Linked DNA regions of Homo sapiens: region 2 is linked to region 1. Evidence: promoter capture Hi-C in 16 types of primary human blood cells and fetal thymus (Javierre and others, 2016). All regions are on one chromosome and are shown on one strand. The core of a region is centred on a gene start or on the middle of the fragment in contact, and the rest is flanking DNA. Distances in the headings are between cores, read along the strand shown. Region 1 holds the start of SIK2 (salt inducible kinase 2). Region 2 overlaps FDX1 (ferredoxin 1).

The links. Contacts are between HindIII fragments. The CHiCAGO score rates a contact against its expected background, and 5 or more counts as called.
Region 2: a fragment that was not itself captured here is called in contact with the fragment with the promoter of SIK2 in region 1 in 1 of 17 cell types (total B cells); the score reaches 5.5 in total B cells.

Annotation. Positions count from the first base shown.
Region 1 is chr11:111,600,542-111,605,093 of GRCh38, forward strand. It overlaps SIK2 (salt inducible kinase 2), which reads left to right and starts at 1,908. Exons shown (of 15, transcript NM_015191.3): 1 at 1,908-2,157. The coding sequence starts at 2,023. RefSeq lists an enhancer at 1,294-1,433 and silencers at 1,524-1,963, 2,514-2,673. The HindIII fragment of the contact is 10,147 bases long and covers 1-4,552 here.
Region 2 is chr11:110,431,134-110,435,685 of GRCh38, forward strand. All of the region lies in intron 1 of FDX1 (ferredoxin 1), which reads left to right. Among named protein-coding and RNA genes, the nearest start is that of FDX1, 3.5 kb to the left of the region's middle. The HindIII fragment of the contact is 2,203 bases long and covers 2,202-4,404 here.

The DNA of each region.
Region 1 (4,552 bases), core at 658-3,157:
TCAGTGCCTCACATCTGGAGGCACATCATGTCATTTTATCACATAATTGGTGACATTAACTTTGATCATTTGGTTAGGGTAGTGTCGGTCAGATTTCTCCACTGTAGAGGTACCCTTGTTAACCCTTTATCATGAATAAGAAATCCAAAGACTGTGCAAATATCTTGTTCCCCAGCCAAATTTTATTCAATGATTTTAACATCTATTGATAATTGTCTGAATCCATTATTACTGTAATGGCTGCCAAATGATTTGCTAATTGTCATTTCTTCTAACATATATTAGTTGGCATTCCACCGTCATTTCACTTCTCCCCTCTTTATTTTTCTGTTTAAAAGTAAGTATGCTCTACGATTCTTTTAAAAAATTCAATGTGTTAGAATCAATTTCTATATTTATTTATTTATTTATTTATTTACTGAGACAGAGTCTCGCTCTGTCGCCCAGGCTGGAGTGCAGTGGCACGATCTCGGCTCACTGCAACCTCTGCTTCCCTGGTTCAAGCAATTCTCCCTGCCTCAGCCTCCCGAGTAGCTGGGATTATAGGCGCCCACTACCACGCCCGGCTAATTTTTGCATTTTTAGTAGAGATGGGGTTTCACACAGGCTAGTCTTGAACTCCTGACCTCAGGTGATCCACCCGCCTCAGCCTCCCAAAGTGCTGGGATTACAGGCGTAAGCCACTAAGCCCGGCCCATTATTTATTCCTGATACTCAAACTGTCTCAGATTTGGTAAGGGGGGAGCACCTTCGAGCCATCTGCTTTCTTTTGACATATCTTCCTTGACATAGCCAAGAAATCTCCTTGCTTTAAGGAGCAGGATCTTTCAAGGGCATTTTATACTTTCCCTGTCTCTGCCCTCGAATGAGCCATCTCGCCACGGAGTCTGGCTCCTTTAGGTGGAGAATGGTATTTAGAAACCAAGATATAAAGGCATATGATACATCTCAAAATAGTGAGGTGTCACTGTCCCTGTTTCCTTGAGTCACATTTGGAAGCGTGGTGTGATTTATAATCCTACCTCGACTATTGCCTGTGTGACCTAGGCAATTCCCTTTATTCCTTGAGGTCTTCTTCGTCCTTTGGGGAAAAAAATTGGATTAGAGAAATATTTCTAAACTTTTTCAGAGTCACCAACGCGTTTGGGAATCTGACAGAAGCTACGGGTCCATCTCCCCAGAGACATGCTCACATAAGCAAAAACTGGCCTGTGTTTTAGGGGGTTCCAAACTCTGAAGCTCACATGAGGCTCCAAATCTCTGGATTAAGTGATCTCCAAGATCTCTTCAGCGCTGACATTGACATTCTGTGAGTCTATAAGCGACTGCACTGCTGTCAGAATGACTCCTCGGAGACATCAAAACGTGGAGGGTTTTATTATATATAGCAACGAGAAGAGAAAAGGACACAAAGAAAGGAGCCTGTGAGCAACGCATTGCTCAGCCACAGTTCTTTGCCGGTGCCAAATTTAGGACGCGCTGTACTTGTAGGTGAGAGGTTTTGGCGGGAAGGACCCCGGGTGGGCGGAGAACGCCGGGGCGGGGAAGGAGATCGCAGGCCGCATCCAGGTCTCTGCACCCCTCCGCACGGTCCGCCAGGGCTCGCTCTTGCCCTTCGCCTGGAAGGCCGAGGAACGGAGCGGGCCGAGCAGCGACCCCGCCCCTGGCAGCGGTGAGGCGGAGGGGCGAGGGGAGGGCGTCTGAGCCCGGAAGGAGCGCGCCGGCCAGGCTCGCGCCCCTCCCCGTGCGCCGTCCCCCACTCTCCAGCAGCCGACGTCGGCGGTGCTTCGGTCGCCATGGTGACCAATCCAGGCTCGGGCCCGCCCCCGCCCCCCTGCCCCGGCCCCCTGACGTCGGCGCACGTCAGCGGCGGCGCGCGCCTGGCTGGGCCCTGGGGAGCGGGAGGGAAGGAGCGAAGGAGCGAAGGAGCAAGCGGAGCGGCCGTCGCCCAAGCCAAGCCGCGCTGCCAACCCTCCCGCCCGCCCGCGCTCCTGTCCGCCGTGTCTAGCAGCGGGGCCCAGCATGGTCATGGCGGATGGCCCGAGGCACTTGCAGCGCGGGCCGGTCCGGGTGGGGTTCTACGACATCGAGGGCACGCTGGGCAAGGGCAACTTCGCTGTGGTGAAGCTGGGGCGGCACCGGATCACCAAGACGGAGGTGCGGCCCGGGGCTCGGCGGGAGCGTCCGAGGCGAGGGTTCGGGAGAGGAGCTGCTTACCGAGAGGGGCGGCCGCAGTGGTGGGACCGGGGAGACCCGAGAGGCCGCCTCACTGGCGGAGGCGAGCGGGCCTGGGACTGTGAGGACCCAGGAGGTGCAGGGGGTCGGTGAGCAGCGAAGGGATCGGGCCCGGGCACCCGGACCCGAGTGTCGTCCGACTGGAAACGCAACCAGCCGGGGCTTTGCTTTCCCCTACGCCACCCCCGGTGGCCACCCGGAATTTCGCCCAGAGCCCCCCACCCGGGCCGTGACCTGGTCTGTGGCCTCCGCTCCGGAGCCCAAGTTCCGCGTCTTCCCTGCTTTCGGCTGGGGGTGGGGTGGGAGGGGAAGTCTCGGTGTTCCCAGGCTGCGCCGTGAGAGACGTCGCCGGCCCGAGGAGGGGACCGCCTGCGCTTGGGCTCCGCGGATGGGGGATCGTGCGGCCCCCGTGACCCCGGCGCCCCTCCCCTGCCCGACGAGGAAGGGCCCCATGGCTGGGAATACCCCCACGGCCACTGTCCATCTCCTCTCCTTCCTTTTGGCCCAGGGTGTCTCTGATTTGGTGTCTGGCTAGCTTGATCTCTTGCCTGGGGCATTTCCATTTAATGCCCCAGACAATAGAACTGGTTAAAATGGTCATCTCTGCATTTGCACGGTGGGTGGATTGGTCTTCTACTTGTCTAGGGTTGTCACTGTACCAGGTGTGCATTCTGGCTGTAATACGCATTCTTTAAACCATATCAGATTCTGCCTCTACTCATAAAGCCCTCAACTGCTTCCTGACGGTGAATCCTGCACCCTCTTCATTGCACATTCTAATGCACCGCACATACTCTCTCACAAGTCTCTGTTCTTACCTAACCCGCCCCCCTTCCTTCCACTGCCTCAAGCTGCTCTCCTCAGGGTCTCTATTTTAAGACGTGCAAATTAAATACCTTAGAAGAACGGTAGAAACAAAACCATTCTTTAGAATAAAACCTAGTGGTTTTGACGTACTCTACTCTGCCTTATTGTAGTTCCTCCTGGAGTTTCATCCTTTTCCTGTTTGTTTGCCCTCCAGTTTTGGTCCTATTCTGCTTTTTCCCTTGTTAGTACGAATGTACTGGAGTTTGAGTGTAGAATAAAGTAGGACTTCTTTTCAGAATGACTTATGTAAGGCGAAGGGCACTTGCAAACGTGAGTGATTTTTGGAGTTGCAGTTGTACTTAGAAGTTTTGCTTAATCCCGTTTCCAAAAGGAAGGGGTATATGTCATTCTGTCTTCTTTACTTTTTGCCTTCCCCTGCTGGTCCTGAACCAGTCCAAATCTGACTTATCTTTTAGAATCAGGACCAAGGTCAGATATTTTCTTCTCACAGATTTACCAGTTAGCAATTTAGATTGTTTGTAATGATAATGATAACTTGACTATAGTGATATTGTTAAATCTTAATCTGATCCCAGCATTTTTTAAAATGAAGAAATTGGTTCCATTCCTCTGAAGAGCCATGGCCTATGCCATGCCATTTCCCTTTAAGTTACATAAAAGAAGGCATTTTAAATGCATGTTTTATGAGTCCTTGCTTAATGACTTTCTAAAAACAAACAAATTGTGAGTTATAGAGAGGTTCTACAAAACTTTTGAACTGTAGTATATCGTGTGGTTGAATTCCAAATCCATCAGTTCTTAATATTTTTTTCTCATCAGCTCTTACTGGGATTAATAGCAAGATTTAATTAAGTCATCTATTATTTATCAGGTCAAATTTAGTTAATACAGTAAGAGCTGCTTAAGTGGAGTGATTGACACTTTGAGGTTGACAATTCAAATGGTGTCCGTTTTAAACTAATATATCTTAAAGAGCTAGGGGGCACTATGGAGTAATACCGTGGTTTGGCTATCAGAGTGAGATCAATGCATTCATTTGTAATTGGAACAAGCACCGGTCAGATCGTGAAAGAGGACTTAGATCCTAAATCGTGTGTGTAGTATATATGTGTAAAATGATTTACGTTAAAAGCTAAATGTTTAGTCCGCAGAACCCATTTCCCTGTGCTTTTCTAAAGAAGCTGTTATTAACATATAAAAAGAAATAGTGTGAATTTGAGATGGGTGAGGGTATCTGTGGTAATTTGGTGGGTGTGATTGGAGATATTAAGGTAGAGAGGGATAAGTGAAATGTCAAAGCAATCTTTGAACAGAAAAGTTCTCTGGATCTCTAGGTTGTAAAGTTGCTCTGAATTTTTTTTTTTTTTTTTTGAGACGGAGCCTCGCTCTTGTTGCCCAGGCTGGCTGGAGTGCAGTGGTGCGATCTCGGCTCACTGCAACCTCTGCCTCCTGGGTTCGAGCGATTCTCCTGCCTCACCCTCCCAAGTAG
Region 2 (4,552 bases), core at 2,053-4,552, 1.2 Mb before region 1:
CAGCTTCTTAGGTTCACAATGTTAAGAGAGTTTTGTATTAAATATTGAAAGAAATGTGACAATTTATCCCAAATGTGTTGAAGTTTTAGGTTCTTGGGCATATTTGTTTTTCAAAGACACTCCTTAGATATACTAGAGATACAATTTACACATAATTTTTACCAACATGGTGGCGATTTATATAATGCAGATCTCTCGACAGCTCTTTGACCGCATGATGTAGGGTAGCAGGAATCGAGAACTAGAGGGAGAGTGTGTTGGATTTGTACGCTGCTTTGTCTAGTTTCTTTTTGAGGTCTCTGAGAGCAGGGTCTAAGACTTTCAGTCATCTTTTCCCCACTAATCCCGTTATCTAGTGGGTGCTCCATACATTTTTGTTGTGTGAACTTTGGGGGAAATCAGGGAGAAGGCAAGCCAGATTTATTTGTTCCTGTTTCCTCTGCACTTCCCCCCCTGTCTTTGACCAGTGTGGGTACCTTGCTTTCTGTTATACAATGGATGAGTTTTGGACAACTGAATCAATTGGGACAGATATTGAACATGCTTGTGTAACTGGTATAAGGGAACATGAATGTTTTTGTAGTAATTGGGAGTTATCTTTCTCAGATTTGTTTTTTGGATTTGGATATGTCAGGTTGTTTTAAAGGGGAGCACGTCTATTTCCTCATAATCCTGCTGCCCTCTTTATTGGCACAATTTCTATTCATGGTCTTATCATTCCTCTTACAGACTTTGGAGCTACAACTGGATTTTCCAGTTCTTACTGTGTTAATGAGACTTGTGCTGTAACTACCGTAACTACTAATCACATGTGGCTATTGAAGTTTAACATAATTAAAGGTAAATAAAATTAAAGATTCAATCTCGTAGTTACACTAGCCACATTTCGAGTTCTCAGTAGCCACATGTGGCTAGTGGCTACTGTATTGGACATTGCAAGTATGTGTAGAACATCTTTGTTATGGCACAAAGTTCTTATAGACAGACAGAGCAGTTCTAGAAACTGTAGTTCTGTCTTTGAAGTTTAACAACTCGATAAGCTATCAGTAATTGAGAGTCAGAAAAACTCCTTTTACTCTAAAATACCGTGACACAAGGGGGTTTGCAGTGATTCAGGTAGCAAAGATCTTTCACGTGTATTGTTTCGTATGACTCTTAAGACAATTCTATGAGGTAGGGAGGGTAGATAAATGGGAATAAAAATTTCATATTAAGTAGCTGGCAAAACTAGGACTAGAACTCAAGAAGTTTTTGCGGATTTTAAAAAAATTTTAAATTTCTATTTATTTTTAAAATTTCAGTAGTTTTGGGGGCACAGGTGGTGTTTGGTTAATGGGTTAGTTCTTTAGTGGTGATTTTGGAGGTGTTGGTGTACTCTTCACCTGAGTGCAGTGGTGCCATCATGGCTCACTGCAGCCTACACCTCCCAGGTTCAAGCGATTCTCGTGCCTCAGCCACCCGAATATCTGGGATTACAGGCGCGTGCCACCACACTCGGCTAAGTTTTGTAGTTTTAGTAGAGATGAGATTTCACTATGTTGACCAGCCTGGTCTGGAACCCCTGGCCTCAAGTAATCTGCCTGCTTCAGCCTCCCAAAGTATTGGGATTACAGGCGTGAGTGACCACTCCCAGCATAGGGTCTACATCTTCTGACTCTTAGGTTCCATACTCTTTCAACTTAAGAATTACATTTTTCTTTCGTTTCCGCCTCCTCTCCTCTTCTTTGGTAAACCTGTTAATACTCTTACTTGGCAGTTTTTTGTAGGGCTGTTTACCTTTAATACAGACCAACAGGTTGGGCTTCTTAGCAAAAGGGCTTGGTCTTTAAATAACAGTTATTAATCAGTGTGTGTTGAATTCTACTATGTGTTACGTATTTTGCATACATTGTCAGAACTATAAGATTAATGTTGTCCAATTTTATAGAAGAGGAGGCTGATGTAAGAGATTTCGAATTCCTTTGCTGTAAGCTTAGCTCTAGAGTGCTTCAGAAGAACAGCAACGCTGAAACCTCTGGCTTTCAGTAGTGTGTATAAATGATGGAATTCTTTCTAATGTGCTTCCTGTAGCTTTAGCTACCAGGCATTCGTTGATGTCAAATCTCTAGACTTCTCTGCTGGGCTCAGACCCATACCCATATTGCCATCTGGTGTTTGGACATTCTCATCTGGCTTTTTCATTATTAAATTCAGCAGGTCTAAGCTTCAACTTATTTCTGTCTTCCCCAAAGTTCCTTTGGTTCCTGTCTTAAACCTAGGTTAAATGGTACCACCTAATTGTGTGAGCTGGAAATCCCAATGTTTTTCTTTCCGCTTTTCAGTTTATCTTATGTAGATGGTCACTAAAACCTTTTGGTCTACCTCCTGGATGTCTGTTAAGTCACTGCATTCTCTGTCCCTGATTAGTTTATGCTGTTTTGATAACCTCCAAAGTGGCCTCCCTGCCTCTAGGGTATTTTCATTCTCAGCCATTGTACTTTGAAAAAAATGGCAGTTATTCATGTTGAAAATTATGAATAATATGTGGGAATACTAGTTTTAAAGCATGTTTTGGCTGTGAAAAGAAGTTGGAGAGCGCAGGCCCTTTTGAGGAACATTCTGGTACACACACACACACCCTTTTGATGAGTTTTAATGAATAGAATCCTGTTTTTTTTCCCAGTGTTATAATATTAGGGAGGGCATTATCCCAGTGGGGCTTCAGTTGCCTCATTTGTGAAATGGGATCACTGGACTTGATAACTTTCGAGATAGTTATGGCTCTGAAATTATTTAATTCTGAGTTTTACTTAAAGATTTGTTTGATGGGCTATTGCCATCTACTGGTAGTAATAAGAATAACAACTCATTATTTTAAGTTGAAGAGAATCTTTTCAAGTGTGAGGTAAAAATTAAAATGACCAATGGTGGAGGAATAAGGATCTAGTTTTTAGTATAATGGCTTCTCAAATTTTGGAGGGATGTTTGTGAGAAGTGAAGGAAATTTAAGTCAGCTAGCTGATAGTTAACATACTATCTTAAAAAAACATGTAAGGAGGTATTTATCTTACAGATTCAAACAAATAAACTTTTTCTAGTCCCTTTGATTTGTAAGTATACAATGTGGACTGAAATGAGATGTCAAATACGCAGAAAACTACTAAACAACATCTCTCAGCAGTAGTATTCTATGTAGCACTGGAAAAGCAATCGCCCTATTGATTTTTTTTTTTTTTTTTTTGGAGACAGAGTTTCACTCTGCCACCCGGGCTGGAGTGCAGTGGTTTGATCTCGGCTCACTGCAACCTCTGCCTTCCGGGTTCAAGCGATTCTCCTGCCTCAGCCTCCCGAGTAGCTGGGATTACAGGCATGTACCACCATGCCTAATTTTTGTATTTTTAGTAGAGACGGGGTTTCGCCATGTTGGCCAGGCTGGTCTTGAACTTCTGACCTCAGGTAATCCGCCCGCCTTGGCCTCCCAAAGTGTTGGAATTACAGGCGTGAGTCACCATGCTCGGCCATGATTTGCTTTTTAGAAGCTCACTACAACCCTGGTCTAGTCTTTTATGGACACATTCATGTTTTTCAGAGAGCTGTGTGATGACTTTTTTTGTTTTTTTTTTTTTTTTTTTTTTTGAGACAGGGCCTTGAGCTGTTGCCCAGGTTAGAGTGCAATGGTGTAATCACGGCTCACTGCAGCCCTGAACTTCTGGGATCGGGTGATCCACCTCAGCCCCATGAGTAGCTGGTACTATGGGCAAATACCACCATGCCTTTTATTTTTCATACACCTACAACCATCTCATTTTTATTTTTATTTTTTGTAGCAATAGGGTCTCTCTGTGTTGCTCAGGCTGGTCTCAAACTCCTGGGCTCAAGCAGTCCCCTGCCTCGGCCTCCCAAAGTGCTAGGAGTACAGGTATGAGCCACCACACTTGGCCTTTTCTTTTTTAAATGACAGGGTCTTGCTGTGTTGCCCAGGCTGGAGTGCAGTGGTGCAATCATATCCCATTGCAGCCTCTTCCTCCTCCTGGGCTCAAGGGATCCTCCCGTTTCAGCCTCCCAATTAGCTGGGACTACAGATCACATCACCACACCTGGCTAATTATTTTATTTTTTGTAAAGATGGGATCTTGCCATGTTGCCCAGGCTGGTCTCAAACTTCTGGCGTCAAACAATCTTCCCACTTCAGCTTCTCGAAGTACTGGGGTTACAGGTGCAAGCTACTGCACTGGCTTGTATGAGAGTAAAATAGAGTTCATGAGTGATAATAATTGCCAAATGTTTTATAACTGTGACTATTAGGGAGACATATACTGAGGCCACCAGGTGGCGTTGACCAGGTAGTCATTGCCATTTCCTGTAAGGTAGTAGAGCTTATTACCTGGTAGGTGGGTAGATATATATGCCTTTGATTTCCAAATAAGCTTTGGAAAGAAAAGAAAATACCTTCGGCTAGGCATGGTGGCTCAGGCCTGTAATCTCAGAGTTTTAGGAGGCCAAGTTGAGAAGATGGCTTGAGGCCAGGAATTTGAGACCAGCTTGAGCAACATGGTGGCACCCCGTCACTACA